Linked DNA regions of Homo sapiens: regions 1 and 3 are each linked to region 2. The links are contacts of gene promoters, found by promoter capture Hi-C in blood cells and fetal thymus (Javierre and others, 2016). All regions are on one chromosome and are shown on one strand. The core of a region is centred on a gene start or on the middle of the fragment in contact, and the rest is flanking DNA. Distances in the headings are between cores, read along the strand shown. Region 1 overlaps MRPS27 (mitochondrial ribosomal protein S27). Region 2 holds the start of MAP1B (microtubule associated protein 1B). Region 3 overlaps MRPS27 (mitochondrial ribosomal protein S27).

Region 1 (3,145 bases), core at 581-3,080, 180 kb before region 2:
AAACGAACCCCTTGATGAGAGGTGGCCCTGCCTTCCTTTAGTGGCTCTTTGGGACTGTAGGGCTGCTTTGGTAGTTACTTTTTGTCTGTGATGAAGGGTGTATTTGGGCTGGCATCTGGCCAGTTCTCATATTTTTATTTATAGCAAAATGCAGAACATAGTTTCAATTTCTAAATATAAACTGTTTTTTAGAATTTCATCCTGTGAGATACAGTGCCATAGTGTTGGGAGAAGTATGTTCCAAATTCAGAAGTACTTCTGTAGCATCAAATTGATTTCAGTGACTCAGCATTTCAACAAGTATTTACCGAGCACCTATTATGTGCGCAGGCCCTTTCCTGGGTGCTGGATATCTAATGTTGAATAAGTTAGACATTCTCCAAGTATTACTGAAAAGTTGAAATTCTGTTTTTAAGACCTTCTATGATTAATTCTTCACATGATGTTCAGTTTTGTGTGGCCTGGGGTATAACTGAAAGTTTCATAAGATCACTACGTCCTATTTCCATATAGATCAAATAAAAGACTCTTGTCCATCATAAATCTGAGCCACTGTTTAATTGGACATCCCATTTTTTGCTTTAATCAAAACTAGTTCTTTAGCTATGATTTATCGTTTATCTTAGTTCTTTCTCCTCCCTTCCATTACCAAGAAAATTGACTCTCTTTTTATCAGCTTTTTTTTTTTTTAAGACAGAAATGTTTTTATGACTTCATGTGCTTGTATATATATGAGACTAGGTAGAACTCTACAAAGCTGCGTCGGAACAGTGGAGATTGGCTGGGTTCTCTCGTTAGCTAAGTGCCTCACTCTTGCTTTCCACCCTTAGAGAATATACAGAACATACTTATGCCTTAGCAAAATTAAAAATTACAAGTTATAAACTCTTGGGGTTTATCTCAAGTAATCAAAATCAGGGATGTTAATCCTGAAGACACCAAGGACTTACTGCTGTGTAATATTTCTACCAGTTAGGCCTTCAATCATTATGATGCCTAACATCTCCTCATGGGATGACTTTAGACATCTCGGAGCAAACTTACAATTCCAGGTCTAAGGTGAGGAAATGAAAAAGGAACTTCTTAATTTTATACAACTCACAGCTTGCAGGCCTGGGGTTAGGATTTCTCAGTCCTTAAGCAGTACCGTCTTTAACAGACAAGCCCACAGGAGAACTTTGGCATTGGTTCACCTCTTTCTCTGACATAACCTGTGAACACCAGGCTCTGCTAGCAGGAGTGTAGCTGCCACATCTTCTCCTCTTCTAGTGATCAAATTTCCGCAATTATTATGTAAAGTCTAGAGCCAAAGAAGTTTAGAAACCTTGAATGATCAGTGAAGAGCTGATTGAGCTTCTGCCATTGCATCAGGCACACAAGTAAACAGTTCCAAGTTCCAGCAGCTCAGGGTGCTGCTGGTACCTGCCAGCTTATTATCACCCTATCATCCCAGCAGAAGATTTCAAGTTTTGAATCTCTGAAAGTACATAGGCTTAAATGTTTAGGGACTTCAACATTAAAGGGATCTTTTAAGGAGAGATAGAAAGGCTGCTATTCAGACAGCAGGCAGGAGAACAAATTTCTAAGTACTTTTATTTGGGCCGTGGTCTATTCTCTGGGAGCTGGCAATCCTATGATCAACTTTTGCCTTCTATTTATAAATAAAAAATGAAAACACCAAGGAAAGGGTGAAGCTCTAACCAAAGAATAATGTGAACTAAAAATGATTAAGGCAATACCAGCAACTATATTCATTGGCCAAAAAAAAAAAAAAAAAAAAACTGGTAATACCCATATAAAAGGAAAATAAACCAAGAGTAAAAGTGATTAAAATAGCAACAAAGTTAAAACAAAGTAAAATAAACAAAATAAGGAAACAAGGCATACTGTTGGGCTGTGACAAATAAAGAAAACTTAAATAAGATAATAAAAAATAAATACAGTAAAATGAAATAAGGATTTGAGCCAGGGACTTTATACGATATGTATAGTTTAAGCCGGGAGGTTGGGAAAATAGGCATAGGTGTGCTCTTGCACAGATATTACTAGCAGGCTAAATGGTAAACCTCTTTATGAGTGGTTTTCAAGCTGTCTTCTGAGAAGCCCTGGAGCTAGTTTCTTATAGGCCCTCTAGGGCGTGGCTTGGGGGAAGAATAGGTCTGGAGATAGGCCAGACCATGCTGCCACAGGCCATTTGCTTTTGCTTCTGTTTCTGCCAGAGAAACTGTGCCTCCAGCTGCCTTATCGGTGTCTACAGAGAAAATTCAGAGAGGACTGTGAACTTGCATAAGAATAAAATTATATTTTTATTTTCACTAACCTCAATAATATTTAGCATTTCTTTCATTTATGAATGTAGGCAGCAGATGACTATAATATTAACAGCATCTGTGTCTTTCTTGCCAATAAAAATCATTGATTTTTTCATATCACATTACATTTGTTACAGATATCACTGCTTAGAAATTATGTTAGTAATTAAACCTACCGCTAGCTAGTGTTATTTCATGCATTAATAAAGCAGCACATATGTTACCATATCCCAAAGATTTCTTAATATCTTGATAATTGTATTTCAATATAATTGGTTTCTGTTGTAAGAAACTAATTCTGAGAAGCCTTCATCAGACTGCCAGAGGGTTCAAGACAAAAAATTGTTAGGAACCCTGCTGTGAGATCTTGTTTGAAAAATAGGTTCTTTTGCTTAGACTTATTTTTATTTCTTCCCTTAGGTTTTTTGGGTTTTAAATACTCTGGGTCTTTGTTTTCTCTTCTTACAAAGAAGACTTTCTTAGTTTAGACCTTACCAAGTAAGACAAGCATATAATTGATGGGTTTTCTGTCTTCACAATGAAAATTTAGATACAGCCAGTCTCCCAAGTTTCCCTACAGCACCGGAAAAAAGGTGTGGTGAGGAGTGAGAAGATTTGGACAGGCCCTGAGATGCTACCTGTCAGGAGACCAGCGCTGGCAGGGTGCTAGACAGGAGCATTTCCGCTTTATTTTGATATCACCATCACCCAGTCCTTGGTGAGGTAAGAAGTCATGCTCTTTCCCAGTGGTAGCAGCAAAGGTTCTGTGACGCAGAAAAGAGAGGTAACAGAACAGCTCAGCTAACAGCTGCTGACAGGAAATGTCTGTTCAG
Region 2 (2,980 bases), core at 322-2,821:
GGAACGAGGGCTGCGTGAACGCCCTTTGTCCGCCTCGGGCTGCCGTAGAGACCGCAGTGCGGACTGCACCACGCCCACCAACCGGTGTCTCCCGGAGAAACGCTTCAGCACCACCCCAGGAGAATAGAGCGCGGGCTGGGGCTGCGGAGGGACCCGGCGACCTCTGTCAGGAGCGAGGGGAGGGCCGGGACGCCAGGGATAAAGGGAAAGGCAGAGACCAGAGCTGCCCACCCAGGGACTCCCAGGGCAACAAAGCCAGGCAAACTGAGAGGTGGGGGCGCGCGGCCCCCGCCAGCCCGAGGCCCGGGCGGAGCGCAAGCCCAGCCAGCCGTGCCCGACGGGGGCGCCGCAGTGTGGGGGGGCAGGTGTGGCGGGCGGTCCGGAGGCACTGCGGCAGCTCGGGTGGGGCTGGGGGCGGTCTCTCTGTGCGCCCGAGGCTGTGCCCGCCGGACCCTCACGGCCCCGCCCAGGGTCCCCGGCGTACCGCTATTCGGCCTCCGCAGAGCGCGCCACTGGTGCGAGCACCGGGCGAGGAGCTGACCCTACCCGCTGACGTCTCCCTCACCGACCCCCTTCAAGCTACCACTCCCGAGGCTGGGACTTCTAAAAGCAGCAGCCCCACCCCGCAACTTGGGGTCCCATTGTCCTTTCTGAGAGCTGCAGCCAAGGCCCCAAGGGCGGTAGCGAGGCGGGCTCTGTCTGGTGGCGAAGCGCAGGCGGTTCTGCATCCCAGCATCTCCCCGGGGAGGGGGGGGCGGGGGGAGCGGGCGTGGCCCTAGGACTAGCCTAGTCATTCTGAGGAAAGAAAGGATCGGGAGGTTTGAAATCAGAAAAGGCGTTTCTCAGGGGCTGAGGTAGCCGTGGTGAGGATGAATCCCACGCGGGCCCTGGCACATGGGCTTCGGCCCCAGGTCTGCGGTGGTGGGGGTCCCAGCCTTTTCCTGAGGCCAGAAGAGGACTGAAAGGAGTGGTTGCATCAGGTCTCCCCCACCCTTCTGCCTCCTGCGGTTGCGGCTTTATTGTGGCCTCTGCTCCCCTGACACCTGCATTTCACTTAGCGGGAGAGGCGGTGGCCAACTCAGCACAGGCTGCGGACTCAGCGTGGTGACAGATCCCTCAAGGTTATTGGAGACTCTCCCTCTGGGTCTCATATCTAATAATTCGGATTATTCTTAATTAGCCCAGAAAGGGTCTGGACCAAGTATGAGAGGTGACGAGGAGAGGCATGGGTGCGGGGCGCGCGGGAGGAGCGCAGTGACCGTCGCGCCCTGGGTGGGGTCGTGTTTGCGCGTCTCCCAGCGCGCGTCTCTGGGGGCGCGGGGCCACTTACCGAGCTCGATGTTGCCGATGGCACGCCGCAGGTGCTCCTCGGTCACGATCTCGCCGACGACCACCAGCAAGTAGAACTTGCTGTCAAGGAAGCGGTGCGACAGGCTAGGCGAGGTGGACGCCGCCGGGTTGGCGATGCTGCCGGACGGCTCCGGCTCGGTGGCTTCCACCACCACGGTCGCCATCCTGCCGGCTGCTGTGCCTCGGCGAAGTGTCTCGCTCCGGCCGCTCCTCTCCACTGCGGCAGGAGAAAGGATTATCTCCGAAGGTACTGTCTCCGCTCCGCCCCCTGCGTCCCCCCTCCTCTGGCGCCGCGCGCCGCCTCCCCCTCCGCCCTCTCCCAGCGCCGCGGAGAGTGCGCGGCGGAGAGGAGCGGGGAGTGAGAGAGGGCGGGGAGGCGGCGCCGCTTTTATATGGAGACTAGGCAGGGAGCCGGGAGGAGGAGGAAGAGGAGGAGGAAAGGACCACCCGGCACATCCTCACGCGGTGGCTGCCTCCGCTCTTCCAGCCGTTGGCCCGGGGCTGATGTCATCTGCAGCAAATCATCTCGCCCGCGGCCCGGAAGCTGGAGGGACGAGGTGTGCGGACAATGGTCGGGGCAGGGCCGCGAGCCAAGGGGCTGGGGCGCCCGCTGAGCTCCTGCTGCAGCCGTGAAGGGGGAAGACGCTCTCAACCTACACCACCCACCACGTACACACCCACTGCCCACTCCTCACCCTCACCCTGTCTGTGCATGGGAATGGGATGAGTTTCCATTTTCGGAGTGGGGGTCTTTTCTCTTGTTGGAGTTGCACTAGTCAGGCCTCTGCCTTGTGTGCTGTGTATGATGTAGCCAGGTTCTCAGGAACTGGGATAGCCACAGTGGGCAGATGCGGGGCTGTGGGTACCCCGCCTAGGAAGACGGAACCTGTCTTTTCTTTGACCTTGTGGCTTTAAGAAGACGAATTTACTGATATTTACCAATATCAATATTTACCACCTTCACTTAAAGAATACATCAAAAATGCAAAACTTAAGCCTACTATTGTTCAGGCCTTGGATTCTACTCTGGCAGGGCCAAGGATGAAAAAGTACTGGCTTTGTGGTGCTCATGGGAAATGAGAGAAATGCAGATGTATTATATTAGATACCAATTTCTTTCCTTAATGTGCTGAACAGATAGTATCAGTAATAACAAAGAATAAAGAGAAGATACTGTCTCTACTCAGCAGGGTTACAGTGACTATAATGTACTTTTCAGTTCCTTGGGGAACACACAAGCAAAATTACCTCGTGACAATGATGTCTTTTAAAATACCTGTAGCATTGGGAATTTTTATTGCCTTTGTTTGTGTTTAGAAGAACTAAAAAATGTGTTTTTTGTTTTTGTTTTTTTGTTTTTTTTTTTAAGGCAGCCTATTTACAACCGTTTCTCACAAACATACTGAATATAGCTTCTGTCCCAGAAAAGGGGAGGAGGGTGAGGAAAGAGCAAAATGTGCAAACATGGTATCATAGAAGACTGGGGAATTCGAGCTTTAAGGAAGAGGAATAGATGGAAATTAGTCAACATAGCTTTAATACTAGAATGCCTGTTAGTAAAATATAGATGATAGATAGATAGATAGATAGATAGATAGATAGATAGATAGATAATCACCTAGATATTCTT
Region 3 (2,951 bases), core at 392-2,891, 200 kb before region 2:
CTCCCACTAGAGACAGTGTTTTGATGTACGGGACAGTCTCAGCATTGCAGGTCATCTGAATTCCCTGTTTTCTGTCCATTAAGTGCCAGTAATGCCTTTCAGTCATTGTGACAATCAAGACCAACTTCCACATATCCTAAAATGCTCTGTAGGGCCAATACTATACTGTTCTAGTGATCAGACCAGTATGGACTCATAGTTATACAGCAAGGCGTGTTCGGATGTGCCATATGTGAATTATAAGCAAAGTGCAGTGAAGTACAGATAAGGGAATGACGAATTCCAGGAAAGCTTATTAACACTTTCCTAGGTATGTAGGGAAGATTAGGAAATGAGGCCACTAGGTTTGGTGTCTTGGTGTTGGGTATAGTCAGTCACACAAATCCAGGGAACATTGTCATGGATACCTGAGTAAGCAGTAACTGTTTGCCAAATAATGAGTATAATAATCTGCAGCGGGGCAGCACGCAGTGGCACACGCCTATAATCCCAGCACTTTGGGAGGCTGAGGTAGGCAGATCAAGTCAGGAGTTCAAGACCAGCCTGGACAACATGGTGAAACCCCGCCTCTACTAAAATTACAAAATAGCCGGGCGTGGTGGCGCACACCTGTAATCCCAGCTACAATGGAGGCTGAAGCAGGAGAATCGCTCGAACCCGGGAGGCAGAGGTTGCAGTGAGCCAGAGATCACGCCGCTGCACTACAGCCTGGGCGACAGAGCTGACTCTGTCTCAAAAAAAAAAAAGTCTGCAATGAGTAAATATCACATAGAGACATTTGTTCCCTTTCCTCAGTTAAGACTAGTTTTCTTGGAAAAGCAGTACTAGCCACCATTTACTGAATTTTTCCTGCCACCGAGACAGCTGTCCCCTCTGCCTAGAATATCTTTGTATATCCTGAATCTCTCCAGTCAGAATCGATGTTTCCTGCCCTATATTCTTTCAGCACTTTGTGCCTTCCTTGTGTATGATGTGCTGAAGTCTGCACTTGGGAGGCCGACTTCTGGGTGTCAGTCCCAGTTCTGCGGCTTTCAGCTGTCACACTCGGTTTCTGTGCCTATAAATTAGAGATGATGGTAATGCCTGCCTCTCCGTCTGACATGCAGGTGCTTCAGAAATATGTGCACTGAGGAGTCCCTAAGCCCCTTGTTTTTAGCCCTCTATAAAACGTGTGAGGTGAAATAATGTTTTGGAACTCACACTGCTTGGAACAAAGAAAGCTTTTGAGACTTTTTCCTACTGTGTACTGGAAGGTAATTATTGCCGCTTTTTTCAAAATGGACATTGTTTTCGGTTTTACTCGACGACACTACTTGTTTTCCCTCATTTTTATTTGAGCGTTTGGGTTGAGCTACTGGCACTTAGCAGGGAGGCCGCATGGTAGGGAGAGCGCCCGTGGCTCCAGCTCTGGAGATGGGACAGTAGGTGGCAGTGTGGCCCCTGCGGGAATCCGCCGCCCCGCGGGTGGAACGCGGCGAGTGGGCGCGGGGCTGTCGGGTAGCGTGCGCGCGCAGGGCCGCGCCCAGCATGTGGAGCGCTGTGATTGGGCGCCGCCAGCCGGAGGGCCGTGAGGTGCTCAAAGCGGGCTCGCTGATTGGGGGACGGAGGAGGGCCGATATGAGGCTTTCGCCGCTCCCATCCCCATTGGAGATCGAGGCAGCAAGGGACACTGCGGCGTGTGGGTGTGGGCTTCATGTGCCAGAGCGCCGTCTCCCCTGAGCCGTGCCCTGCCGGGGAGTACGGCGAGAGAGAGGTTCTGGCCTCTCGGAGTGGGCTTGCGGTTCCGGTGCCCCCTCTCTTCGTCCTCGTGGCTGATTGTGCCAGAGAGCTCCTCGGGGAGGGCCCTAGCGTGAGGGCAGTTTCCCAGCGCCGGGGCCGCGGTGGACGCCAATGCAGCTGTCTAGGACCTGCGCCCGCGGTGCGTCCAGAGGGCCCCGGCGCGAACGTCAGAACGCCGCCCCGTTCCGCGCTCTCAGCAGCCAGCCAGGGCCGCTGCCAGTTCCACCGTGGAGAGGAGGAAACCGGGCGAGAGCCTCACTTTCCTTTCCGCCCAAAAAGCTTTCTCAGTGATTGCTGTAGTACCTGAGATTCTACCATAGGATCTTCCGCCTACATTAAAGTAGTCGATTTCTTCTTTAAAATACTTTTTTATTGGAGTATAATATACATACTGAAAAGTGTGCAAGTCGTAATATAGACATTGATGAATTACCACAAAGCGAGTAAACCTGTGTAGGAAGCAAGAGCATTCCTACCGCTCCAGAAGCCCTTATTGCGGCCCCCACTTAGTCTCTCCAAAGGTAACCGGTATCCTGACTTCTAACGCCACAGATTTTTTTTTTTTAGTGTTTTAACATTTGAAGGTGTAGACACCTTGGTATAAGGAGCCCCCTTTACCCATCACCTGGCTTCAACAATTATCAGCTCTTAGTCTTTATTTTATCTTTATTACTGTTTCCCCATCCCGATGCTTTGGATAATTTTGAAGGAGATCCCAGGCAGTAAGTCATTTCATCCGTAAATATTTTGATACAGATCTCCAAAAGACAAGGGTGCTTTTCAATACCATTATCACACCTAAAATATTAATAGGGTTGTAAATATCACGAAATATCCAGTTAGTGTTCAGATATCCCTGATACTCTCTTTCTTATTTTATTTTATTTTCTTAGAGCCTTGCTCTTGTCGCCCAGGTTGGAGTGCAATGGCACGATCTCAGCTCGCTTAAACCTCCTCCTCCCAGGTTCAAGCGATTCTCCTGCCTCAGCCTCCCGAGAAGCTGGGATTACAGGCGCCCGCCACCATGCCCGGCTAATTTTTGTATTTTTAGCAGAGATGGGGTCTTGCCTTTTTGGTCATGCTGGTCTCGAACTCGTGACCTCGTGATCCGCCCACCTCGGCCTCCCCAAGTGCTGGGATTACAGGCGTGAGCCACCGCTCCTGGCTCAGGT

What was found. Contacts are between HindIII fragments. The CHiCAGO score rates a contact against its expected background, and 5 or more counts as called.
Region 1: a contact is called between a fragment that was not itself captured here and the fragment with the promoter of MAP1B in region 2, in 1 of 17 cell types (total CD8 T cells). The highest score is 5.1, in total CD8 T cells.
Region 3: a fragment that was not itself captured here is called in contact with the fragment with the promoter of MAP1B in region 2 in 1 of 17 cell types (endothelial precursors); the score reaches 5.5 in endothelial precursors.

Annotation. Positions count from the first base shown.
Region 1 is chr5:72,290,840-72,293,984 of GRCh38, reverse strand. The region is part of intron 4 of MRPS27 (mitochondrial ribosomal protein S27); the gene reads left to right. It overlaps LOC107986422 (a long non-coding RNA gene), which reads left to right. Exons shown (of 2, transcript XR_001742742.2): 1 at 1-3,035. Among named protein-coding and RNA genes, the nearest start is that of MRPS27, 28 kb to the left of the region's middle. The HindIII fragment of the contact is 4,217 bases long and covers 1-3,145 here.
Region 2 is chr5:72,106,066-72,109,045 of GRCh38, reverse strand. MAP1B (microtubule associated protein 1B) reads right to left here and starts at 1,571. Exons shown (of 7, transcript NM_005909.5): 1 at 1,331-1,571. The coding sequence starts at 1,514. LOC105379028 (a long non-coding RNA gene) reads left to right here. Exons shown (of 3, transcript XR_007058813.1): 1 at 1-271; 2 at 1,059-1,121. RefSeq lists enhancers at 1-264, 670-1,652. The HindIII fragment of the contact is 9,795 bases long and covers 1-2,980 here.
Region 3 is chr5:72,307,067-72,310,017 of GRCh38, reverse strand. All of the region lies in intron 2 of MRPS27 (mitochondrial ribosomal protein S27), which reads left to right. Among named protein-coding and RNA genes, the nearest start is that of MRPS27, 12 kb to the left of the region's middle. RefSeq lists a silencer at 1,317-1,606 and an enhancer at 1,657-1,906. The HindIII fragment of the contact is 838 bases long and covers 1,223-2,060 here.